7 separate regions of the Homo sapiens genome follow, and all the other regions are linked to region 5. The links are contacts of gene promoters, found by promoter capture Hi-C in blood cells and fetal thymus (Javierre and others, 2016). All regions are on one chromosome and are shown on one strand. Each heading gives the region's core, a stretch centred on a gene start or on the middle of the fragment in contact. The rest is flanking DNA. Distances are from core to core; before and after follow the strand shown.

Evidence for each region. Contacts are between HindIII fragments. The CHiCAGO score rates a contact against its expected background, and 5 or more counts as called.
Region 1: a fragment that was not itself captured here is called in contact with the fragment with the promoter of MROH9 in region 5 in 12 of 17 cell types (naive CD8 T cells, naive CD4 T cells, non-activated CD4 T cells and 9 more); the score reaches 16.6 in naive CD8 T cells.
Region 2: a fragment that was not itself captured here is called in contact with the fragment with the promoter of MROH9 in region 5 in 6 of 17 cell types (M0 macrophages, M1 macrophages, naive B cells and 3 more); the score reaches 7.3 in M0 macrophages.
Region 3: a contact is called between a fragment that was not itself captured here and the fragment with the promoter of MROH9 in region 5, in 4 of 17 cell types (M1 macrophages, M0 macrophages, M2 macrophages and 1 more). The highest score is 6.3, in M1 macrophages.
Region 4: a contact is called between a fragment that was not itself captured here and the fragment with the promoter of MROH9 in region 5, in 1 of 17 cell types (total CD4 T cells). The highest score is 5.1, in total CD4 T cells.
Region 6: a fragment that was not itself captured here is called in contact with the fragment with the promoter of MROH9 in region 5 in 3 of 17 cell types (M1 macrophages, M2 macrophages and M0 macrophages); the score reaches 6.8 in M1 macrophages.
Region 7: a contact is called between a fragment that was not itself captured here and the fragment with the promoter of MROH9 in region 5, in 10 of 17 cell types (M2 macrophages, M1 macrophages, non-activated CD4 T cells and 7 more). The highest score is 11.8, in M2 macrophages.

The regions. Positions count from the first base shown.
Region 1 is chr1:169,940,313-169,943,730 of GRCh38, forward strand. All of the region lies in intron 19 of KIFAP3 (kinesin associated protein 3), which reads right to left. Among named protein-coding and RNA genes, the nearest start is that of SCYL3, 48 kb to the left of the region's middle. RefSeq lists an enhancer at 943-3,418. The HindIII fragment of the contact is 5,755 bases long and covers 1-3,418 here.
Region 2 is chr1:169,998,233-170,001,927 of GRCh38, forward strand. The region is part of intron 10 of KIFAP3 (kinesin associated protein 3); the gene reads right to left. Among named protein-coding and RNA genes, the nearest start is that of KIFAP3, 75 kb to the right of the region's middle. The HindIII fragment of the contact is 5,762 bases long and covers 1-3,695 here.
Region 3 is chr1:170,030,412-170,034,349 of GRCh38, forward strand. KIFAP3 (kinesin associated protein 3) reads right to left here. Exons shown (of 20, transcript NM_014970.4): 8 at 1,475-1,573. Among named protein-coding and RNA genes, the nearest start is that of KIFAP3, 42 kb to the right of the region's middle. The HindIII fragment of the contact is 763 bases long and covers 2,036-2,798 here.
Region 4 is chr1:169,978,701-169,982,516 of GRCh38, forward strand. It overlaps KIFAP3 (kinesin associated protein 3), which reads right to left. Exons shown (of 20, transcript NM_014970.4): 15 at 3,272-3,397. Among named protein-coding and RNA genes, the nearest start is that of SCYL3, 87 kb to the left of the region's middle. The HindIII fragment of the contact is 8,043 bases long and covers 1-3,816 here.
Region 5 is chr1:170,933,903-170,937,630 of GRCh38, forward strand. MROH9 (maestro heat like repeat family member 9) reads left to right here and starts at 1,632. Exons shown (of 22, transcript NM_001163629.2): 1 at 1,632-1,685. The HindIII fragment of the contact is 7,245 bases long and covers 1-1,721 here.
Region 6 is chr1:170,068,597-170,072,344 of GRCh38, forward strand. All of the region lies in intron 1 of KIFAP3 (kinesin associated protein 3), which reads right to left. Among named protein-coding and RNA genes, the nearest start is that of KIFAP3, 4.2 kb to the right of the region's middle. The HindIII fragment of the contact is 677 bases long and covers 1,135-1,811 here.
Region 7 is chr1:169,958,317-169,961,965 of GRCh38, forward strand. KIFAP3 (kinesin associated protein 3) reads right to left here. Exons shown (of 20, transcript NM_014970.4): 18 at 2,730-2,919. Among named protein-coding and RNA genes, the nearest start is that of SCYL3, 66 kb to the left of the region's middle. The HindIII fragment of the contact is 2,319 bases long and covers 328-2,646 here.

The DNA.
Region 1 (3,418 bases), core at 676-3,175, 990 kb before region 5:
TCATAAACTGCCTGGAACTCACTAAATATATTTCAATAATTGCCATCATCATTATTGGTCCATCTATCTCATATTGTACATAGATCTGAAACCATTTAGAGCAGCAGCCCCGAACCTTTTTGGCACCAGGTACTGGTTGTGTGGAAGAATTTTTCCATACATGGGGGAGGAGAGACGATTTTGGGATGAAACTGTTCCACCTCAGATCATCAAGCATTAGTTAGATCCTCATAAGGAGCACACAACATAGATCCCTAGCATGCAGAGTTCACAATAGGGTTTGTGCGCCTATAAGAATCTAATGCCGCTGCTCATGCAACAGGAGGTGGAGCTTAGGCAGTAAGGTTTGCTGGCCTGCTACTCACCTCCTGCTGTGTGGCCAAGTTCCCAACAGGCCATGGACAGGTACTGGCCTGGGAGTTGGGGACCCCTGATTTAGAGAATACCATTTAAAATAATACAATTAGAATAAAGATTGTGTATGTCACTGAAGTCAGCATTGTTTCTACTCCTTTCCAGCAGTTTCATTTAAAACTCTACTGGACTGTTCATGTCCCCAAAACAAATTCTTTTGAGCAGTTGCACTTGTTTAAGAATTATGTGTGTGTGTGTGTGTGTGTGTGTGTGTGTGTGTGTGTGTGTTTAAAGACAACAAAAACTGAAGAAAACAATGTTTACTTCATGAAGAAACTTTCTGTGGACTTGCAAGGTTAGAATTTTGGGCAGATTTAAAGTTGCAAAGAAACGAAGAAGCAAACTATAGAAAAGGCCCTCAGATAAAGTCTAAAATTCTGTTTTCATCTTCATCTTTTTTTCACATGCAAACTATTATGTTACAATTTAAGTAGACATAGGTCTATTTGAAAACAATTCTAAGAGTATAAGCTACATTTTGAAAGTTCAACATTCTAACATTATACCTAATACCTTCTGAAAAGGCCCTGTGAGTGCTGCACCTCTTTCCTTTAAAATGTTCAAACCACTCCTCTTACCCTCCTCTTGTATTGGGGTAACTAACAACAGGCATTTCCCCAAAAGTGGATCCTCTTTTTATCAGGAGATCTGACTTTACTGTCCCCAATTCAGAAACAGTCTTCTGAGTTCTCAATACACTTTTGGTTATTGCTTTTATGGTAGTTGTCTAAATCAATAAATATTACATATTTTTTCTTTATCTCAACATTTTGATTTTTATGAGGATGAGAATAATTTTTTCTGTGAAATTAGATGGCTAAACAGTAACTGTGACTTCAATCTTCTGGGAAAATATAAGCTGATTTCCTTTTTTGATTTATTTTATAAAATTTCATATTTCCATATATAAATTTGACCTAATATAAATATACAATAAAATATATTTATCAATGACTATCACCCAAGATGGCCCCCTGAGGGTGAATTTCTTGACAAAGAAGTTGCTAACTTCCAGTTGCCAACCACAAAAACAAAGCAGTAGAAAAGATAAGAGGTGTAAGTAAAAAATATATTTAACCTGTATTAACTGAATCAGGTAATTAATGCCTCAATTGAGAGGTTTCATTGTAACAAAAAAGAAAATAAATATGATTCTTTATGTACTTTACTATGAGGATGCACATATTAATGTATAAAATTCAGCTTGCTTAAATGTGATTTTGAAATTCTATTGATTTATTCAACATATTCATAGTATTTCCTTTATGTTTGTAAGGACCCATTTGATAAGATGGTATAGTGTGTGTTAACAACAATGTTATTTTTACTCTAAGAAGAGCTCTTATAAAGTGAAACTTCAATTTTTTGAAATCCTTGAAATTCCCTTAAATTTCCTTAAGTACTGTGGTGTCTTCTCTATAATGAAAACTGAAAAATAATGTTATGACTCATTAAATAAACTCAGTAAGTACAAACTTATGTTGAAACTAAACATACAAAATAACTAAAGAAATAACAAACCATTTTATTTTATTTGAGGAGAAAAAAGAAAAAAAGGCTTGGTCTTTAAAAAGGATTAAAATAAACTCAATTTATGGAGTCTTGGAATCTTCACGGCAGTGCAGACGGACTTCCACTTGCCCTCCCCTGGCCCACCTCCTGCACACCTTCTCCTCTTAGTTTATTCACATTTTAAATCTTTCTTCCAAGTTTGGCCTGCAACCACTTGACTGGATAAAGTAGGTCACTTGAAAAGGAAGAAAGCCCAATAAAATGAATTGCAAAGAAAACAAGATTAAACTGATTGTGCTGTTTTCATACATTGTAGCTGAAATTCTGCAAATATGCAGTTGGCTGTGGTTTGGCATTCAACAGAATGTGATCAGTAAGGAGGAAATTTTATTCTCATTAACTGCTGCAGATTTACTGCAGTGAAAAAGGGCTATGTAACCCAAGATGTGACAGTACAGAAAGATCAAAGCCATGGACTGGAAACTAAATAAACCCTCTGGCTACTTCCTGCAAGGAAAATTCACTTTGGCAATGTAGAACAGAGCCCAGTTAAAAACTACTCTCAGTTTTATGAGCTGTCATAGCAGTTCAAGTGGTTTGGACTGGCTGAGTTTATAACATTATATTTCCTTGTTTTTGTCTTAGATACTTCCGTAAGCAGTTTTAAAGACGCCCCCCCCCACCCCTTTAAAAAACACAACAACAAAAAACTAATTTCTTTTGATTGAAACCAAGAAGGTAACCACTAAACTTATTAACGCAGGTAGGTCTTCATTTGCAGATTCCTTTCTCATTTAATACAGCTTAATATTTTATTCTTAGATTTATTTGGTAATATAAATTTACTTAATAATTCATCTACAATCTGTATAATTCCTATTCAGAATAAGTGCAAATCAGTTTACAGAGCCCATATGGCTCATATCTGAGGAGTAAGCTATTTGTAATAGCACATCTGTAAAGACTATGGGCAATATGGAGATTATGGGAATTAATATTACATTTAAAATTACATTTGAAAACCTGTAGGCCCTAGGTTTTAGCTGTTTCTTAAAAAACAAATATCTTAGAAAAAATATCTAATATTTCTAATATAAGAAATCTAACAACTGTTCATAAATAGTTAAATTACATTGTTAAATCAATCAAGACAACAATAGGCTAGATTAAATCTACCTTAAATTAGAAAATATCCCTGAGTTAAGGAGTAAGCTCAATATCATTACACTCATATTTAAAGGAAATAAAAGATGACATGCTCTATTTCTCTCCCTTATTTTTTTAAGGGGGAATAGTGATGCTTATTAACCAATTATATACAATTTTGTTATTCTCATTATAATATGAAGGAGCAAGCCTTTATGACGGTAATTTGCATTATATTACCTTAAAAATCATTTTTGTTTTTTACAATAAGAGCATTTCTAGGTCAAATATGTCATAAGAACCGTCATCCTTGCTTAAAGACTTTCTTTCTTTCCATTTAAATTTA
Region 2 (3,695 bases), core at 451-2,950, 940 kb before region 5:
AGAAACCTCACAATTAGCTACCCTGTTTCATTTACCTTTAAACAGCATGTCCCAGGCAAATAAAACCTATATGACAGAGGTGTTTTCCCCATGTTTTAGCTGAACACAACTGAACAAAAGAAATCGGACTACAACTAGTGCTTCACCAGATATATATATATATATATACACACACACACACACACACACACACACACACACACACCACACACACTTTTTTTTTTTCTTGAGGAAACAGTGTGAAAGGAGGTGATGACAGAGCTAAGGGACTATAATATTCTAACCCAAGTTGCTAATGTGTCTTCTGGATTTTATGTGAGTAAAGTTTCCCCTAGAATTTAAACAACTGATTTACAAATAACTATAAATTTAATTCCCCCCCTTTTTGTAATTAGGGAATGAAAAAGATATAAACTGGCATTTGGCCTTTTATTCAGAAAAATACGTAAATATTTTATAAACGGTCTTGTTACCCACATATTATCTTGATGATTCTAGTTCTATCCTACAGTTACAAATCACATATTTTCTTTCTCTTCTAAATAATTTCAATATATGAAGACTACAGTATATAAACCATATGTATCTTATTCACTGAATCATAAATGATTACATAAATAATCAATACTTAATAAAAATGCAGCCTATAACTTCACGGCATCTAGCAGATATCTGGAACCTACAACAAAAAGACAAGGCATTTTAGAACAAAATTGAGTACGTGGAGGGGGAAGATGTCTGGCAATAACCTGAATTCATCTATTCAAACACAGGTCTGCAAAGAAAGTAAAGACTCTTTGGCAGCCAACATTTAATATTACGACTTAAAGGCTAATTTGCAGATCACATAGCAATAAACAGCTATTAGAGAGATTAAATGGTCTAAGTAAAATAAAGAGCTTATCTTTTATTGTAAACTAATAGTCTTCTTCATTCACTGAAAGAAAGAACATCTGAGTTCTTACAAAATAAAGCTCAAGAAAAAAAATCTTATATACCCTAAGTGAATTCCTACAAGAAATGAGGATTGGAGGGTATGATTTTCTCGTAAGAATTCATGACTAGAAGCCATAAACTGTAGCTAACCGGCTATGATTCCTCTACATCCTACAAATGGTAGACATTTCAAAAAGGCTCCTTTAAGACATAAAGACATCAATTATTCCCTAACGGCATCCCAAGTAAAAACAGGCTGCCAACAGTCAGCATGCTGGCACAGCACCAAAGACTGTGAATTTTAAGCAAGGGCAGTGAAAAGACTGAGTATCTTGAGAACTAGGTTCTTAATGACTGGAGGTGGATTAGTTAAATCTGTTCAAGTAATAAGGGCAGGGTAGAAAAAAAATGGCCTAGTCATTATGATTCCTTTGGTATTTATGGTAATAAACATGAATCATGATGAACTCACTGGCTATTAAACGCAGAGGTCATAAGTACTTCGATAGGATTTCCACAGGAATTCACCGTTAATTAGCTGGATCATTATTTGAAAGTGTTACTGAATTATCTTAGCATTTGTGCAGCCATTCCCCTCAAATTGGTCATTCCCAGCTGAGGGCAGTTAATGCCTTAACAAACTGGTCATTAACTCCAGTAACTGATTTTGTGGGAATTATTGCACTTATAAAGTACATTCAAGAGTTTATAAGAAACATTGCATCTTTTTTTCTTTTTAAAGAAATTTACAGCTGTAGTTCAGCTGGAGCAGCTGAAGGAGAAAAAACTATCAGCTCTCTGGGCTGCTCTCACAATCGATTTTCTGCCAATTAAAGGGCAAAACACATGCTGATGGGTTTTGAATTTTAAAATGTCTTCAGTTTTTTCATCTGTGAAGTGATCAGTAAAAACACCATTCAATTACTAATTTTGTAAGACACTTGGGATTTTTCATTCACAGTTCAGTCAAGCAGAAATACGAGTTCTGAACATGAGAACTCAAAAGCCAAATTTCCGCTTCTGCAGTAGATCCAGCCCAACACTGTGAAAACAAAGTGAGAACACAAGTTATGGGCCACATTATTAGCCAGATTCTCATTCCCTTCTATACTCTATGTCTTCTTCTTTCAAAGTGGAACACTCCCTTTGATGTCACAGAGGCTCCATGAAAAGATAATAGAAGTGGGAATATAAGCACACCTATATTAGGATAGAATAGCATTAAGGTGATATATTACCCCTGGAAAGTCTATATGAATACAACGTGCTTCAAAATTTGCAGGTGTCTTTACATTTATTACGGAGTGAGAGCCCCTAAAGTTCTATCAATACAGTGAAAATGCCACAGGTGAAAACCACCACTTAAAAGATAATTGCAACAATTATTGAACATGTTAACTACACACTGACATAGACTAAAAACACATTGAAGCTATATCAGAACATCTTTGATACATGTTTCCATATAATTTTATGCTTAACTTATTAGAGCATATACTGCAGATATATACTCAATATAAACAGATAGCCTTAGTTTAAACTTGAATTTGCACAGACCAATGTTTAAGACTGTAACTACATTGGATGATCTCTTTTATAATATATTTGTCTATAGTCGAGATTTGAGATGAACAGATAAAAACCAACAGTTGTTAACCAACAGTTAAGGGGAAAAAATAACATAATTTATAGGTTACAAAGATCAGTATGAAAACATTAAGTACAACAATAGTTTCTGAGGTACAGTGGTTCACGGATAAGTAATTTTTTATGTCCAATTATTTAATTTTAAAAGTATGAGAAACTAACATTGCAGATCTACCAGTAAGCTAAACATTGTTTTTAGAGATAGTCACTAAATGAGTACTCTTATATAGAACATTTTTGATAGATTTTCATTTGTTTTAGTATGTACAACTGTACATTTTGCCACACAGCTTATTTTTCATCATATCTTCAATTATTTTATTATGTCTTCTGTAGAATTTTTATTACATCCATAGAATACAAGTTATTTGCAATAAGATCTAAAGAATACACATACTTGTGGTACAAATGATAAGGATCAAAATAAAGCCCTTAACAATGACTGCTTTCTAGCCTGTATGTCCAAATCATTGACTTAATATGCTTTGGCCAAATTTTACCATCTAGAAATGGAGACACCCTAGGCAATATTCACACACACACAGTATTGGAACCAGCTGGTGACAGAAGAATCTTAAGAAAAAAGGCTTCTTGATTTAATTGGGAAAACAGGAGGAAGCATAAATTTTACTGCCATTAATAACTTCAAGCAATCTTGATATGAGTCTACCTCACCCTGACGGCGAGACATGTGCTTTCTGTTAAACTGTTTGCCACTTCTGACCCCTATTGTTTGCTCACTTGATCAGGTAAGAAAATGTAGGTTTATTTATAGGATAAATGAGGCCTATTAAAATTGAGAAACAGTGTAGTAGTCTATGAGGAGTTGTGTTCTGAAACAGATGTGTGAAATTCCATAACAGTTCGGTAATAAACAGAACAACCAAACCAATTTATTTTTTAAAAAATCTACTTTAAGTTTCTTAAAGAAACTATCATAAAGGCAACCTAGTTTCAAAAAAATGGAAAACACTTCATTTTGCTTGGAAATCATTATTCTGACCATTTCCAAACAGTTTTTAATAAGTCAGAAAAGGCAAAATGTTGCTTTCTTCACAAAATAAAGTTTCATTTTTTCATTCTTTATGATGCTGTTGGTAAATTAAAAGTTA
Region 3 (3,938 bases), core at 1,167-3,666, 900 kb before region 5:
TTTGGCAGTTTCTTACAAAGTTAAACATACACCTATCCTATGACTCAGCCATTCCATCATTAGGTATTTAACTAAGAGAAAAGAAAGCGTATGTCCATACAAAGACTTGTAGAAAAATGTTCACAGCAGCATTAAAATTGCCAAAAACTGGAAATATTCTAATGATCATCAACAGGTGAATATAAGGAAATACTATTCAATAACAAAAAGGAATAAACTATTGATAAATGCAATAATATGGATGAATCTTTAATTATGCTGAGTAAAAGACAAAAATGCATACATACTATATGATTTCATTTATATAAAACTCTAGAAAATGCAAACTAAGCTAAAGTGACAGAAAGCAGATCAGTGATGACTTGGGAATGAGGAAGAAGGCAGAAGGAAGAAGGAAAGGGAGAGATTGTAAAGATGCATGAGGAAATTTTGGGAGTGATGGATATGTACCTTATCTTGATTATGGTCATTATTTCATGGGTATTTACATATGTTAAAATTTATCAAATTATATACTTTAAAACTATACAGTTTATTGTCTATCAGTTATACCTCAATAAAGCTGTTAAGAGAGTATACAATATTTGCATAAATATTTGGTTAGAAACAGAGCTTAAAGTTTTGCATGTTAAAAAAGTCAAATTAGTTCTTTGAAACTTTTACATGAAAACAATTGCTTTCTTGAGATCTGATGCATTTTGGATTATATGCTAACACAGATAATACCTATTATTTTCTAGCATATTTTAAAATGAACCTTTGAAAATCTGACATTTTCTCCAACAGGTTGAACTAAATTACTTGGCTTCAAATATTTAAAAAACTCAGTGTAGTTAAAATTGCTACTAATCTTCACAGGATGAAAATATTTTGGGAGTTAACAAGTATTTCCATGTACAAAGTTAGTCAAACACCAATAAACTACATGAATCATCAAATAGTCAAGTATAAATCCGGACTTAAATTCACACTTAAAAGCCCCATGTCATTATCACTAACCACCATAAGATTTTACATCTTATCAGTAACCAAGAAACCATACTATTGAAGTTTTAAATATCTTAATAAAGCTAGAGACAAGGAATTCTTTTCTATTAAACAAGAGAAATATTTTAAAATGTTTATATCAATTTCCTAGGAAAGCAACAAAATAATTCACTTTATAAAACAAGTAAGTTAGGGCTGAAGAGACAAAGATTGATATTATTGAAAAGGTCACACACTGGATTAAAAAATCCTTTCTTAGGAAATAAATAATAAGTATACAAACATTTAGGAACTAAATGGGGAAAAATAGTAGAGTGAAATTTAAAACATTACCCATGCTAAAGACAGACGAACTTGTAGCATATTAACATTTATAGAACTTTCAGCTATTCTCACATTAGCTTTACAGGTATGATAAAAAGTGAACAAAACAAATGTATTTGGAGTAAGTACTTTGTTGCTTTCCTCATTGCTTAGGAATTCATACCTCGTAATAGCTGTTCCTGTTTTACCACAAGCCCCTGGTACTTTTTAAAGGTTTTTTCATAATCCTTTCTCAAGGTTTGGTTTTCAGGGTCTTCATCAAGTAAACAACTTGTTAAGGATCATCCATACTCATTGAAGCAAAAAAAATCTACTGATAAATTCTATGAACAATGGCACTATTAAATTTTATGTGCAACTTTATCCAGTTATTTTTCTCACCAAAAGTTTAACTAAAATGTTATCTGCATAATAACTGTGCTGTAACAGCACTTCTTATTTAAGTGCTCATGGATTCCCTGGGAGTCTTTGGGTGAACAAACTTTTTTATGTAGCCCACAGCTAACATCATATAGATATTTGAACCTCACCAAATACTTGAATTCCCAGAAACTATATGTGAATATTTTATATAGGTGCACAAGTCTATAACTTTCAACAGATTATCAAGTGGGTCCACGAACCAAAAAAATTACTGCCTCAGAAAGTGATTTAGTTACTAAGAACACTGGATTTTACTTCAGACAGATGCCCAGAATATTCAAAGGATATAGATTAAATCTAAAGCTTTTGTAGCAGCCTTTTCAGACTAGAGATGCCAAGAAAGAACTAACCCAAACTTAAAGGTAAACAAATTTTAAAAATCACATCTTCTGGTCCCAAATCGTCCTCTGGACTTCTTGCAAAAATAATCAGTTACTTCAGTATCCCCAAGCATATGAGTCAAGCATATGACCCCAGAATATGAGTCAATGCAGCTGACCTTGTTGAATACCACTTGTATCAAAATACAAAGAAATTTAGGACATAATAAAATAGCAACATGTCAGGAGAAATGACCAGAATTCTGATGTCATTTTTATATCCCTTCAATTACCATAATCTGTTGAGTCTAAGATACATTTTCCTCACATCTTAACATCTCCAAAACTGGATGTGTCTTATAATCCCTGATGTGTCATAGTTTAATTGAAAGCATATGTTCCTCTCCTCGCACTTAAACAATAGTGAATCTTAAAATTAATGGTGTCTGATACAGAAATACAATATGTCCTAAGATATCAGTTCTTGTCACCAAACAATAACAAAATGCAAATTCATGATTGCTAAAGAGTTCCACTAGTGGTTCCCTCCATACTTCTCCAGTTTAAATAAATTTTGGGTACCACTGAAGCATTCAGGAGTCTTGTGACTCCAGAACTGATGTAAAGTCTCTAGGATTCTTGGGTTGTTGATGTAGTTGAGTCACTATCAATCTAGATGCCAGAAGTTTATGGTATGCATAGAAAATTTATAAACCTGAAAAGATTCTAATTAAGAAAAGTCAAAGCTTGTGTGTGGGTGTGGATTTTATAGTGTCTTGGAGTTCCATGTGACAACAGTAAAAGCCTGAGAGATTTTGTACACAATAACCTGAATTAACCTGTTACAACATAGATTAAATTGAAGCCTCAGGGTTTCCAGAGGCCAAAATTAATATAAAAGTAAGGTCCACTTTTGCACAAAGCAGAGTTAAAAATGTATGATATTCTGCAAAATAGGAATAAAGTTTTCACTTTTTAAAAGACATAATAAACACTTGATTCAAAGGAAAGTTACCAGCATGCCTAGTTGATCTGCAAAACATATCATGGTTGAACAGATATGAATAAACCAGGGGCCTTTGATCTAGAAGCATTGAGTTTAGAGGCTAAAATATGATAAATATCTTCAAATATGAGAAGAATTATGATGTTGAAGAGAATAGCCTTATTCCATATTGCTTTAGTATACAATACTAGAACCAATGGATAGAAGTTATTGGGGAATGGACTTCAGTGCACTAAGCAAAAGACTATTATAATAAACAGAATGCTAAACCACAGAATGGGTGAAATAAATAAACACTGACATTGTTAAAGAGGAGCCTATGTAATAGCATTTGCCAGGGAAGTTGCAGAAATATTTTTATATTTGTAAGATAGGTTAAAACAGATACCTAAGTTTCCTTTCACAGGTTCTATTATTCTATAGGCCTTTCAAATTTTTATTTATTAACAACAGTATTTTTGCACTTTCCTAGAAAAATAGAACCTTTAACTAGGTTCATCACCAAATTTACACCCATTCTAATCAAAGTCACCTTAGTACTCACACAGAAGTATATAAGCAGCAGTGGTGGGCCAGGCTTCAACTAACCAAAGGATCTTAGTGGATGTAATGATGTAACCACTTAGAGGCTCACCTACTAAGTTACCCGACACAACTATTACCTGCTCCTTCTACCTCATTAACTAATAAAGGTTGTGAAGAGACAAAAAGTGAATATCAAACTGTATTCATTTTGATAGTTTCAATCTACTTCTTAACCTTCAATAACACACTCCTGCATTGTTTCCAAGTAATGTAATTAACAATTTTTAAAAAAGAAAAAAGAACAAAACCATCCCACCCATCCAAAACTTAAAGCAAAAGACAACAGACGGTTC
Region 4 (3,816 bases), core at 1,231-3,730, 950 kb before region 5:
TAATGGAAAAAGCATAATTGCTTATAGAAATCTAACCTTAGGTAATGATTATGAAATTAGATTTAATAGTATAGTTTGCTATCAACTCTTGGTAAAAGTTCAATGACATTTTAGAAACAGAGTTTCAGGTCAACAGAGTATCAAACCAGTTGTGTAGAATAAATTGTGGGTCCCTTAAAGTTCAATTTGTCCCAAATGATCTCCCTCACTAACTTGCCAAAGTACTACTCTCCCAAACAAATTGGGCTAAATTTCTCACTATTAATTACTATCTTGGTATACAGTATTCCCTCACTTAATACCAATGGTTTTAATCTTGAAAATCTGTATATTTCTTAAAAAGAGTATTATAAAGCCTCTGCCTGTGATAATCTCATGTCAGAGAACACCAAAACATAGTAAAACACTCTGAGCTGGCTGTGTCAGATCACTTTATGAATATCTTAGCTCTCTTGATTATAATCACTATGGGACAGCAATTCCAGGATGCAGGTCATTTTGCTTCAACTTTCTTCAGCTCTCCACAAAATCTTCATTCTCACTCTATCAACTACGTGTCTTTACTTTTACCTCCCAACTACTTAGTCTTTCTTTTAATTATTTCTGATCTGAAAACTGACTGTGAGAAGAGTGTACCAAAGTAAATACAAATATGCTAAAATTTTGGGAAGGAATACTTCAAATATGGGGCATTATCTCTAGATGACCTATTAAAATGAATTATATTAAGGAACTTACAAATTAAATTAAAAAAACTCAAAAGAGAAAAATGCACAAAAGGCTTAAATAGGCACATCTTTTTACTGGCTATCCCTAAATAATCAATAAACATAAACAGGTGATGAACTTCATTAGTCATTAGGGAAATACAAATTAAAATCACAATGAAATACCAGTATGATGGCTACAATTGAAAGGACTGACAATGCCCAGTATTGGAGGTGATGTGGAAAAATTGCAGCTCTCTTACACTACTGGTAAGAATGAAAACCAGCAGAACTACAGATTGGCATAGTTTACTAAGGCCAAACACATACAAACTCTGTGACCCAGCCATTCTACTCCTACGTGTGAACCTAATGGAAATGAGTACATATGTTCACCAAATGAAAGGTTTCAAAATATTCATAGGAGCATTATTTATAATAGTCCTCCCCCCCACAAAAACCTAACTCTACTATCCATCAGTAGTAGAAAGGATAAATGGTGGTATGTTTATATAATAAAATATTATACATAACAATGAAAATGAACAAACTTTTGTATACAACATAGATGAATGTCACAAATATAAGGTAGAACAAAATAAACTAGATTCCACTTATATATTAAAGTTCAAAACCAAGCAACACTAATCTAGTGGTGACAAAATAAACTATCTTTTGTTCAAACTAACCACTTTGAAGGAGGTGGTAATGACTGAGAGGAGGGAGAAGAGGCACTTCTAAGGTACTGGTAATGCTTTATTTTCTTACATGAGTGATAATAACATGGGTATGCTTACACTGAAAATACATTGAGCTATACTTACAATTTATGTATGTTATTACATATTTGAAAAGTCTATTAAAATTAACACAAAATGCACATATATTATGCCTAGTACAAGATGAACTGAGATGAGAGTATCTTCTTCAGGGATCTCATATTAGCATTTTTAACTTCTATACTATTCGCTAGTTATGATGTGTAAGATCCTAGAGAACTTGGCCCTAATAAGATTCAGATAAATTTTGTATGCAATATGGAGAAGAATGAGCCCTGCCCCTTAAGAGTAATATAAATGCAAGGGGAAAACTCTAGGCCTGCAATGTCAAATATTGTAGCCATAAACCACTGCAGCTAATTAAATTAATTCAAAAATTCAGGTTATCAGTTGTGACAGCCACATTTCAAGTGTTCTACAGCTACATGTGTTGGACACCACATATATAGAACATTTTCATCAACTAAGAAATTTCAGAGGACAATAAATTCGGATCTAGAAGGGAATATGATGTTTAGAATCAGCTTCCAAATGGACCTTCCAACTTAGAAATCAAGTTTTAAAAAATAAGATTTGCACAAGAGAAGAGATCCAATTCAAACCAACACAAATCTCAACAGAAAGAAGTGATATAGCCGGGCACAGTGGCTCACGCCTGTAATCTCAGCACTTTGGGAGGCCGAGGTGGGCGGATCACCTGAGGTCGGGAGTTCAAGACCAGCCTGACCAACATGGAGAAACCCCATTTCTACTAAAAATACAAAATTAGCTGGGTGTGGTGGCGCATGCCTGTAATCCCAGCTACTCAGGAGGCTGAGGCAGGAGAATCGCTTGAACCCGGGAGGCGGAGGTTGTGGTGAGCCGAGATCATGCCATTGCACTCCAGCCTGGGCAACAAGAGCAAAACTATGTCTCAAAAAGTCAAAACAAAAACAAACAAACAAACAAAAAGAAGTGATATAATACAGTGGTCCTCCCTTATCTGTGGTTTTTCTTTCCATGGTTTTAGTTAACTGCAGTCAACCATGGTCAAAAATATTAAATGAAAAATCCTAGAAATAATTCATAAGTTTTAAATTATGCACAATTCTGAATAGTGTGATGTAATTTCCCACTGTTCCACTCCATCCCATCCAAGACATGAATCATCCCTTTGTCCAGTGTATCCAGGATGTACATGCCACCTGCCCATTAGTCCCTTAGTAGCCATCTCAGTTATCAGGTCCACTAGCATAGTATTGCAATGCTTGTATTCAAGTAACCCTTATTTCATTTAATAATGGCTCCAAAGTATAAGAGTAGTGATGCTAAGCATACTGTTATAATTTTTCTGTTTTATTATTAATTATGGTTGTTAATCTCTTACTGTGCCTAATTTATAAATTAAACTTTATCATTGGTATGTTTAGAAAAAAAAAGTATATATAGGGTTTGATAGTATCTGTAGTTTCAGGCATCTGCTGGGGGTCTTGGAATGTATTCCCCTTGATTAAGTTGTGACTACTATATTGGTTGTTCAAGGTTGGTGAGGAGAGTACTTCTGTAAAATTGGTCCTGAACTGCTTTACAGCAACATTCTTAACTTTGAAAGCTAAAGATCTTTGATATTACTCTATCCAATCCCAGTTAGCAGTATATTTAATTCATTTTTCTTGATTATATAAGTTGCTATGAAACAATTAATGTAATGAGAAAAACAGATTACAGACTCTGCATTTTATATTTAAATATTTAAATCAATAAGCTGTTTAGACATTAACATAAAAATAAATTAAGGTTATTTACCATTTAGCAATTCAATGAGTGCAGGGATTATGCCAGATTTGGCTAGCAATGCAGCACAAGAGTCATCCATGGATACAGTTCCAATCATTATAACCACTTCTAAAACAAGATCATCTTCTGCAGCACCTAGTGAAGTCAAACCATAGAAAGTTTTCACTGAAATGTCCTGATCCAAATTCATTTAGAGTATCAAAATGTAAATACACAGAAAGGATACTGAAAGCTATTAAATCAAGTCATATGAATCCTTGATATGCTATAAATTTGTCCTTTTTCCAAATTTCCATGTTTGCTGATGACAGTTTGTGATAGTGGGGGCAGGGGGCAGTAGAAAAGTGGAAATGAGCCTTTGAGAGTACAACTGAATGACAACATAGACACAGAAAATAAAAGACTCATTTGAATGCCTCAAAGACCTTTGTGCGTGTTTATGTATATGCAGAGGGATGGTATTTGGTAATTTTAAAGAGACAGAATAAAAAAATACCAAAAGACCACAAGAAAGGTAGAATAGGAAATAGAAACTAACATAAGAAAACACACTT
Region 5 (3,728 bases), core at 382-2,881:
ACTGGAGCAAAACCTTTGTATGTTATTGAAACTAAATTGATATTAATTCAAACTACATTGTTTTAGGCTAATGTTATAATTGTGACCCTAGAACAAACAAAGTTTGAAAATTCACACTTCTTGATTTCAAAACTTACTACAAAGACACAGAAATCACCACAGTGTGCTACCAGTATAGGAAAAACATATAGATTAATGGGATAAAATTGAGTTCAGAAATAAACCATTTTAGTCAATTCATTTTTTACAAAGATGTGGAGACAATCAGGAAAAGAATCATCTTTTTAACAAATTGTACTGAGACAAGTGAATATCCAGATGCAAAAAATAAGATAAAATTAGACCTCTACCTCACACTATATACTAAAACTAATTCAGAATGAACCAAAGACCTAAATGTAAGGCAAAAACTACAAAACTCTTAGAAAAGTTCTAAATCTAATCTCTGTGAAGTTGGGCCAGGGAATGCAGGCAATGTCTTTTTCTTTTTTTTTAGTTATGATACCAAAAACACAAGCAATAAAAGAAAAAGAATGGCAAATTTAAATTTCACTTAAATTTAAAACTTTTGTGCTTCAAGAGACACTGTCAAGAAAATGTAAAGGCAGCCCATAGAAAAGGAGGAATATTTGCAAATTATGTATCTGATAAGAGACTAGCATCTAGAACATATTAAAAAATCACAACTCAGTAATAAAAATCCAAACAGTCTAATCATAAAAAGTCACATATTGTATAAATCTATTTACATAAAATGTCCAGAAGGCAGACAGAAGATTAGTGGTTGCCAGGTACTTGGGGGAGAGGGAGGGTGAATGTCTGCTAACAGGTACAGGGTTTCTTTGGAGCTTGTTCTAAATGAAAATGTTCTAAAATTAGATAGTAATGATGGTTGTATACCTCTGTAAATATATTTAAAATGATTGAATTATATACTTTAAGATAAATTTTATGGTATGTGAATTATATTTTAATAACTCTATTATAAAAAGTGCTACAATAAACATCCTTCATGTCTCTCAGTGCATCAGTTGTATACATGTTTATACACTCTATGGACCTAGAACTGGAAATTCTGGGTTGTAGATTTTCAGTTTTGCTAGAACTTGACAAGTTTCTCTACAAACTAGTTATATCCATTTATAATCCCACCAGTCGTGTGAGAAAGTTCAACTTTCTTTTATCTTTGCCAATATTTGAAATTATCTTTTTTTAATTTTTACTTGTATTTTAGTACTTTTTAACTTATTAGCTGGGAAATAATATTTTAATGGTTTGTATTTTCATAACTTCAAGTGAGATTAAAAATCTTTTAAAATATTTATTGGCCATTCAGTTTTCCTTTTCTGTGAATTTTCTATTCTTATCCTTTGCCCAGCTTCTACTGGACTGTTGGTCTGAAGAACTATCTTTCAGTGCTTGTAACATAGAAACCAGAAACTTACCCACCCCTCAATAATGACAGGTGAGCATTAGTAGCCACTTGGGCATGCCAGGACATTCTACCACATTCATTCCAGAATGGAATCTTTGAAACATATGGTTGCCATGACGAGTGTCAACATTTCAAAGAATTTGCTTGGTTGATAACTACCTAGAGTATTTTACCTTTGGCTAAGAGGTAATATACTAGAGTTTCTCTTCACTACTTTGTCTCACCGTGATTACAGAGAAGTTACAAATATGTAAGTGAATTCCTATTAATATTTCTGTCATTCAAAAGCTTGTCTTTTTTTCTAATCCTGACTACTTTTCTTAATTTTTGTTCTGTTAAGAAAAAGAACCATGAATACATTAGAAAATTACGTTATGGCCCAGGTATGGTGGCTCACACCTGTAATCCCAGCACTTTGGGAGGCTGTGGGCGGATCATGAGGTCAGGAGGTCGAGACCACCCTAGGCAACTTGGTGAAACCCCATCTCTACTAAAAATACAAAAATTAGCTGGGTGTGGTGGCGGGTGCCTGTAATCCCAGCTACTCAGGAGGCTGAGGCAGGAGAATCACTTGAACTCGGGAGGTGGAGGTTGCAGTGAGCCGAGATCATGCTACTGCACTCCAGCCTGGCAACAGAGTGAGACAAAAAAAAAAAAAAAAAAAAAAAAAAGAAAAGAAAAAGAAAATTACATTACTATGGGCCCTCATCCAGAAATCTTGCCAAAGTTGGCAATTGGAAGAATTTGTCTTTATTCATTAATCTCCTAACTTCATGCCTTACTAGTAAGGATTATCTTATTAGTAAGGATGAGAGAAACCACAACTATATAGATAAATATATTTATTATAAGGTATTGGTTTACACAATAATAGAAGCTAGGAAGTCCTGGATTCTGCTTTCTGCAAGACAGAGACCCAGGAGATCCAATGGTGCAGTTTGAAGGCCTGAGAGCAAGAGAGTTGATGATAAAAATTCCAGCCTGGTTCTGAGGATCTGAGAACCAGAGCACCGAGGGCAGCAGATTTGTGTCCCAAGTCAAGTAGTCAGGCAAAGAGAAAACTAAGCATTCTTCTGCCTTCTTGTTTTATTCAGGCCCTCAATGGATTGGAAGATGTTGACCCACATTAGGGAGTGTCATCTCCTATCATCAGAACACCAATTTAAATGCTAATCTCTTCTGGAAATACCCTCACAGACATACCCCAAAATAATGTTTACCAGATATCTGGGCATCCTATGGCTCACTCAGTTTGACACGTAATATTAACTAACCATAATGAGTTCCCACGTTGAAAATTTGGCACCCATATACATATCCTTAAGCCATAGTTAATCTCCAAATAAAGTCAATAAGAAGCTCATAATTCCATTTAACATGTTGAAATGTAGTGGGATTGATAAGGAATCAGAGAGACCGATGGGGTTGAGAAGGATATTTATTATTTAGGTGCACCGGCCCAGTTGGATTAACCTCCAAAGGACTGAGCCCTGAACAAAGAGTTATCTTTTAATCATTTCGTGGGGTGGGGGAGATCTGTGTAGGGGGAAGCATATTACAGAAGTGAGAAACAAAGACAGTTATTCAATTAATTGAAACATGCATTACATCATTTCTTACTTTTCAAGGAAAAACATGTTTTATGACTTGAGTTTATCTGTCTAGTGACCTTGCAGCTGCACAGCTAGAGAAACAGGGTCTTCACAATGCCTGGGAAAGGAGGAGAGATAAGGCTCACTAGCCACAGAAAAACAGGCAGTTAATTTTAAAGGACTCCAGCTCTTTCTCTTTCTCTGGGGAATTGGGTTTTCTTACATACAACTGAGTTTCTGCTTACACATTCTTTAATTTCTTTTAATTCCTGTTCCAACATATGTCCTGCATACAACTGAAAATGCACTAAACCCTTCTCAGAGGAGGAGATAAAGTCCTTCAGTGATGTTTACTCTCTTCCTTGATGTCCTGTAACTTAAACACTATGATGTAACATTAACAATACTTAAATACTAGAATATGAAGTCATTGCATTTTGTATTATGTGATAAGAGAATAAGAAAAGAAAAAATATTTGGTATCTAATATATACACAAAGAAATGTATTCAGAACAAAATTAAAAGGAAATACTCATAATTATTACAGTCTTCATTTCTGCACTGATCACAGCATCATAATCAGTATTTTTTTTTTTTTTTTTTTTTTTTGAGACGGAGTCTCGCTCTGTCGCCCAGGCTGGAGTGCAGTGGCGGGATCTCGGCTCACTGCAAGCTCCGCCTCCCGGGTTCACGCCATTCT
Region 6 (3,748 bases), core at 223-2,722, 870 kb before region 5:
CAACATATGCATAATGAGGGTATGAAAGGAGAGGAAGAAAGAAACATAGAGAATACTGGGAGAAAAAACAGTCAAAAACTTCCCAAATTAGACCAAAGACAAACTTACACATCCAAGAAGCTCAATGAAATTCAAAGATAAACTCAAACAGATCCACAATAAGACACTCTATACTGACGCTCTATTTAAAAAAATAAATAAAAGATTTTGAATTAATAACCTAATTTTACACCTTAAGGGGCTAGAAAAAGAAGAGCAAACAAAACCCCAAGCTAGCAGAAGGAAATAATAAAAAGCAGCAACAGAGACTAGAAAAAGAATAGAGAAAATGAAACCAAAGGTTAGTTCTTTGAAAAGATCAACAAACATTTTTGGAAAACTTTTAGTTAGACTGACTAAAAAAGAAAAGAAGAGACTCAAATTACTAAAATCAGAAATGAAAGTGGGACATTACTGCTGCTCTTTTGATGATTAAAAAATTACAAGAGAATAATATGAACACCAACAAATTGGATAACCTACATGAAAAAGAATAATTCCTAGAAACACACAAACTACCAAAACTGACTCAAAAGACACAGAAAATCTGAACAGAATTAGAAGTAAGGTGATTGAATCAGTAATCATAAACCTTTCAACAAGTCCAGTACCAGATGGCTTCACTGGTGAATTCTACCAAGCATTTAAAGACAAATTAACATAAATACCCCTCAAACTCTTCCAAAAGATATAACAGTAGAGGAAACACTTCCTAATTCATTCCATGAGGCCACCATTACCCTGATACCAAAGCAAGACAAAGACACTACAGGAAAACCTTTAGACCAATACCCTTTATGAATGTCGATGTGAAAATCCTCAAAATACTAGCAAACAGAATACAGGAGTATATTAAAAGGACCACGCAACATGGCCACATGGGCATTTCAATACAATACACCACATTAATGGAATGAAGAAAAAAAGTACATGATTATCTCAATCGATGCAGAAAAAAGCATCTGACAAAACCCAACATCTTTTCATGATAAAAGTACTTGATAAATTAGGAATAGAAGAAAAGTCCCTTAACATAATAAAGGGCATATATGAAAAATCTACAGCCAATATCATACTCAATGGTGAAAGAATGAAAGCTTTCCCCCTAAGATCAGGAACAAGACAAGAATGTTTATCCACTTTCCTGACTTCTATTCAACATAGTACTGGAAATTCTAGCCAGAGCAATGAGGCATGGGAAAAAAAAATAAAAAGGCATCCAGATTGAAAAAGAAGAAGTAAAATTATTTCTATCTGCAGAAGACATAATCTTATATATAGAAAATTCTAAAAATGGCACAAAAAACTGGCTAGAGCTAATAAATTCAGCAAAGTTGGAGAATAGATCAGAACACACCAAAAAAATCCACTGTTTTTCTACATATTGGAGCTGAAAAATATGAAAAGGAAATTTAGAAAACTTCATTTCCAATAGCATCAAAAAGAATAAAATACTCAGGAGTAAACGTAACCAAGGAACAACTGTATACTGAAAACAAAAAGTTGCTGAAAGAAATTAATATGAACTAAATGAAAAGAAATCACATGTTCATGGACTGAAGGACTTAATATTGTTAAGATGGCAATATTCCCCAAAGTGATCTATAGATTCATTATATTCCCAAAGTTTCAATAGCTTTTTTTGCAGAAATGAAAAAGCCAACCCTAAAATTCAAATGGAAATATAAGGAACCCTAAATAGCTGAAACAACCTTGAAAAAGAACAACAAAGTTGGAGGACTCACACTTCTGGATTTCAAAACTCACTACAAAGCTTCAGTAATCAAAACAGTGAGGTACTAGCACACGGACAGATAGATCAATGAAATATAATTGAGAGTGCAGGAATAAACCCCAACATTTTTGGTCATTTAATTTTCAAAAAAATTGCCCAAACCATTCATGGAGGAAAAGAACAGTCAATTGTTCTTTTCTGACATTTGTTCTGACAAATGATGTCAGAACAACTAGATAGTCACATATAAAAGAATGAAGATGGACCCTTGCCATATACCATAGACAATAACTAACTCGAGATGGATCAAGGATATTAAATGTAAAAGCTAAAACTGTAAAACTCTTAGAAGAAAACAGAGGGACAAACCTTCATGACCTTGGATTTAGCAGTGGTTTCTTAAATAACGATGCCAAAAGCATGAGCAACAAAAGAATAAATTAGACTTCACCAAAATTAAAAATGTTTGCATATGAAAGTTTTACATACCAAGATAGTGCAAAGAAAACCCACAGAATGGGACAAAGTATCTGTAAATCATGTATCTGACAAGGTTCTATTACAAAGAACTCCTTTTCCCAAAGAATAAAGACAAATGGCCAAGAAGCACATGAAAAGCTCAATGTCATTAGTAATTAGGGAAAGGCAAATCAATACCAAAATAAGATACCATTTGATATCCACTAGTATAGTAATAATTACAGAACAGAAAATAACAGGTGTTAGTGAGGATACGGAAAACTGAATTCTTATACATTGCTGGTGGGAATGTAAAATGGTGCAGTCACTAGGGAAAACACTTTAGTGGTTCCTCAATGAATTAAACATAGAATTACCATATGGTCTGGCAATTCCAGGCCTAGGTATACACCAAAAGATACAAAACAAGTGTTCAAACAAAAACTTGTACAGTAATGTTCACAGCAGCTTTATTCCCAATAGCCAATAGGTAGAAACAACCCAAATGTCCACCACCAGATGAGCAATAAACAAACAAAATGTGGTATATCCATAAAATGGAATACTGAATTAGTCAATTTTATGTTGCTATAACACAATACCTGAGACTAGGTAATTTATAAGGAAAAGGGGTTTATTTAGCTTACAGTTCCGCAGGCTGGGAAGTTCAAGGGCATGACTCTGGCTTCCAGTGAGGGCTTTTGTGCTTCATTATAACACAGTGGACAAGATCAAAGGGGAAGTGAGAAAAGAGAATACCCAAGGGTCTTCCTGGCTTTATAACAACCAACTCTAGAGGGAACTAATCCATTCCCAAGAGAGCTAATCCAGTCTCACTAGAGCAAGAATTCACTCACTCCAGCAAGAACAGCACCAAGCCATTCATGAGGGATCCACCCCCAAAACTGAAACACCTCCCAGGCTCCAGCTCCCAACACTGCCACAATGGGGGACCAAGTTTTAACATGAGCTTTGGTGGAAACGAACTATATCCAAACCACAGCAAATATTATGCAGCTATATAAAGGAATGAAGTACTGATACATGCTACCACACAGATGGACCTTGATATACCATGTGAGAAATGCTTGACACAAAAGCCACACACTTTTTTCATATAGCACTCATAAATACAATAAATATCAGTATATTTTAAAGTCTGTATTACTTGCTAGAGTGTAAATGCCATGAAGGCAGGGAATATATTTATGTTTCATTTACCAAATATGTTTTATCACTTGGCTTAATGACTTTTACACAGTAGAATCTCAACTATTAAATGAATGAACAAATGTTGTTCACTTTTAATATCCTTCAATAGTTCACCAATGCACTCAAAATAAAGTCTCAACTCTTTACTAAAGCGCTTAAGTCCCATATGATTTGGCTCATATTTCTTTCTAGTCTTATTCTGACTTTACTTAATAATCTATGTTTCAGGCACCTTGCTGAGTGCTGGGAATACAATGGGAAGTAAGATAGACACATAGCACCTACCTTTATGAACTTTATAAA
Region 7 (3,649 bases), core at 237-2,736, 980 kb before region 5:
CCTGGCCTCAAACAACCCTCCTGCCTTGGCCTCTCAAAGTGCTGGCATTAGAGCTGTGAGCCACCATGCCCGACCTCTTTTTATTTCTTAAAGTCAAATGAAAATATAATATTGGGCTTTTTGGTGAACTAGCTAAAGGTGAAATTGTGACGGTATGGGAGAAAATAGATGTCAATAGTGTAGAGTATGAGAAAAAGAAATAACTAAAATGATGAATCTTATTAATAATTTATTTGACTATACTTTACAAGACACATCACAGAAATACATAGGTAGTATGAAAACTATGTTTTTTACAATATTCCTGAGATAGAACAAACCATTTTAAGCTTCATATTCCAGTAATACATTCACATACTAAGATTCACTAAAATTAATGAAGAACAATTAAAAAATAAAAAGTCATTTAGATATATGTAGTAGCAATACGGCTTTATAAATGACAAAATATTTCCTCTATGGGTAAAAGTACTAAAGCAAACAGCTTCATTTTCATAATAGCAAAGGACATTAATTAATGACTACAATCACAATAATTTTAGACTAAGTAAAAAATACTGTAACTAAAGGAGATGCTAGTTTTGTATTTCACATAATACTAAGATTTTTTTTTAAAAAACATGGGAGAATCATATACATTTGACTATTAAATCGTCTGAAAATACAGAGAATGATGCTAATGACTAGAAAATAGCACATGCCATTTCATTTTAAAGTAAAAGATAAGACCCAGGGAATTACGAGCCTCTCAGTTTAACCTCTGTGGCTGAAAAGCTGCTAAAGCTGTTCTTATCAGAAACAGCCTAAATTTTCAGGGAGACGCAGAGGCTTAAAAACATGGCTCAAGCATTCAAACAAATCTGCAGGAGTACAAATTTATCTGACGTTTTCTGATGCTACAATCATACACAATAAAGGAAAGGAGGCTGATATTATCTAGATTTCCATGAGACACATCAAGAAATGCTACAGGGATTCATTTAGTCCATGGACTATCCATGGAAAATGATGTAGGTAAAATAATTACTAAACTAAAAAAAATTGCTTGCTATAAGAAATTTAGTTTTAGACTCACAGCATGTAATTTCTACTGTCAAATGTCTATCATATCATCAGGCTATAGATTAAAAAAACCTAAATGTTTCTAAGTTTTGGTGTATGAAAATATACATAACTGTTTTCTCACAAAAGCATAACCTATACATTGTAATTAAAAAGTATCAGAAAAATATTTAGGATTTTCACTTTAAGAGGTTAATTTAAATTAATTTTGGAAATGTGGTATAACTGTTTAGAAATCTGTTTTGAAATTTTAATTGTATTAAAACAACAATGATGAATACTGAGGTGGTTAATAGCTTTATCTGGTTTTGGAAACTGGTAATTGATTCATTATGAAAGTTAGCTATCAATCTTCAAAGCAAGAAACTTGATTCCAAGAATATTCTGATTTCTATTAAAAAAATTCACATCATATATATTTTATATCATCTTACTTCATGAATACTGAATATGTAAGGAACAGCTGTTTGCCATTACTGAACTAAGAAATTCTGTTTGGTTGAAATTAATGATCTACTCCATCTGGTTTGAAACACAAAGCAGCATTTCTTAACTACTGTAAAGTTCAGTTAGGAAGAAATCTATTTGATTTTCAGAGTAAAGCATAAGTTTTCCATGATTTAAGTATCTATACCAAATACAAAAAATAATACATAATATCTATGGAAAATTTGCACAATACACAATTAAGAAAACACATGAATGAAAGTGTGAGTGGTATTATTAATGTGAGTACAGTGATCAGATGTAATAGTAATTTACATAATCATCCAATCATTGATCAAATTGTTCAGATAAAATGAGATAATACACAAAATATTTAGAGAACATATATTGAGAACACTAAATGCATAGTAGAAACACATAGTAGAAAATAAGGTGAGTCACTAATTCAGATATAATCACCTTAATGATTTTTATCTTCAACTTGCTAGAGATTTTAATTATTATAGAAATCCTTTCCTTCCTCTCCTCAACTAAATGACTTCAATGAAGTAATATTAATGTTGGCAACAGTACAAAACAGTGAGAGCTGGAATATGCAAAAACTTACCAATCTTTGTGTCAAACTCATCCTTGGAAAAAGGTAGTAATGCAGAATCAAAAAGGTTATAATACATGTAAGATTTACATAAATATTAAATTTTACCTTAAAAACATTAGCATAGTTTAGAAAGAATAAACAATTACTCTAAAGTGCCTAAATCGTCCCCAAAGTTACCATATAGAGTTTGGTAGTTTGAAACTAAAGCAAAACCATGGCAAAATTAAACTGTTAAGATTAAATACCTTGGAAAACAAATGATGAATAAATTATGCATTTAATAAATGCAGAAGAAAAATGAATATTACATTTTTGAACGGAAGTCAGAAATCTTGAAGTTGTCCATTTAAGTTACACATTCTAGCAATTAATAAACATCTAAGAACAATTAATTTTCCTTGCTACAGCGTTTTAGGGAGATTCCATCAAAGACTAACTTGGAAAAAAAAATGGTAAGTTAATAGGTTTGCTTATTATATATAGACGTTACATCTAAAATCATTAGCAGACCATTCATAAACTAAAAGAAGTGCTTATTAAGCTTGGGAATGTGCAAGGCTGGCCGACTAAAATCTCTATTCATAGCATATAATAAACTGTTTACTTTCGCTTTGGTTATCACCTGAGTTGTAGAAAAGGTCAGGTCTTTCGAGAATATCTCCTTCATGAATGTATGGCTCAATTCGATCATCACCATACAAGTACTGCTCACTCTCATCCATCTGACGACTCTCTACCATCTCCAGCCACTGAGAGTTATGCCAGCGAAACTTTTCACTCTGAATTTTCTTAGCCCATTCTTCATCATATTCCTATTGAAAACAAACAGTCAACTGTTATTATATAAGCTAACTCACTTGGCACTCAGACGGCAATATTTTTATCTCTTGAGAATTTTGGGGGCCCTTCACTGGGTCAGAGGAAGCACTACAAATACCTGTTCAGGATTATTTTATATAATAGCCAACAAAAAGCAATTACATACATAAAGAAGTCTGTGTTTGTATTATCGATCACTAATGGCAATGGCAAACACTAGAAAAGTTTAAATTTCATAAATTCTTATTTAATATTACATAAATATTGCCAGAATTTAAGCGAGCAGTAAGACTTCAGTTTCCAAAGAGTTCTTGTGACTATAATTAAAGTTGACCTTAGAACAAAATGGATTTCAATTGCACAGGTCCACTTATACACGGATTTTTGTTCCACCTCTGCCACCCCTGAGACAGCAAAACCAAGCCCTCCTCTTCTTTCTCCTCCTCAGCCTACTCAATGTGAAGACAATGATGATGAAGATCTTTATGATGATTCACTTCCACTTGGTGAATAGTAAATATATTTTCCTTATGATTTTCTTAAAAATATTCCTTTCTCTAGCTTACATTATTGTAAGAATACAGTATATAATACATATACAAAATATGTGTTAATCAACTGTTTATGCTATTAGTAAGGCTTCCAGTTAACAGTAGGCTATTAGTTTATGTTTTGGGGGAGTTAAAAGTTATACATGGATTTTCAACTGTGTAGGGGGATTGG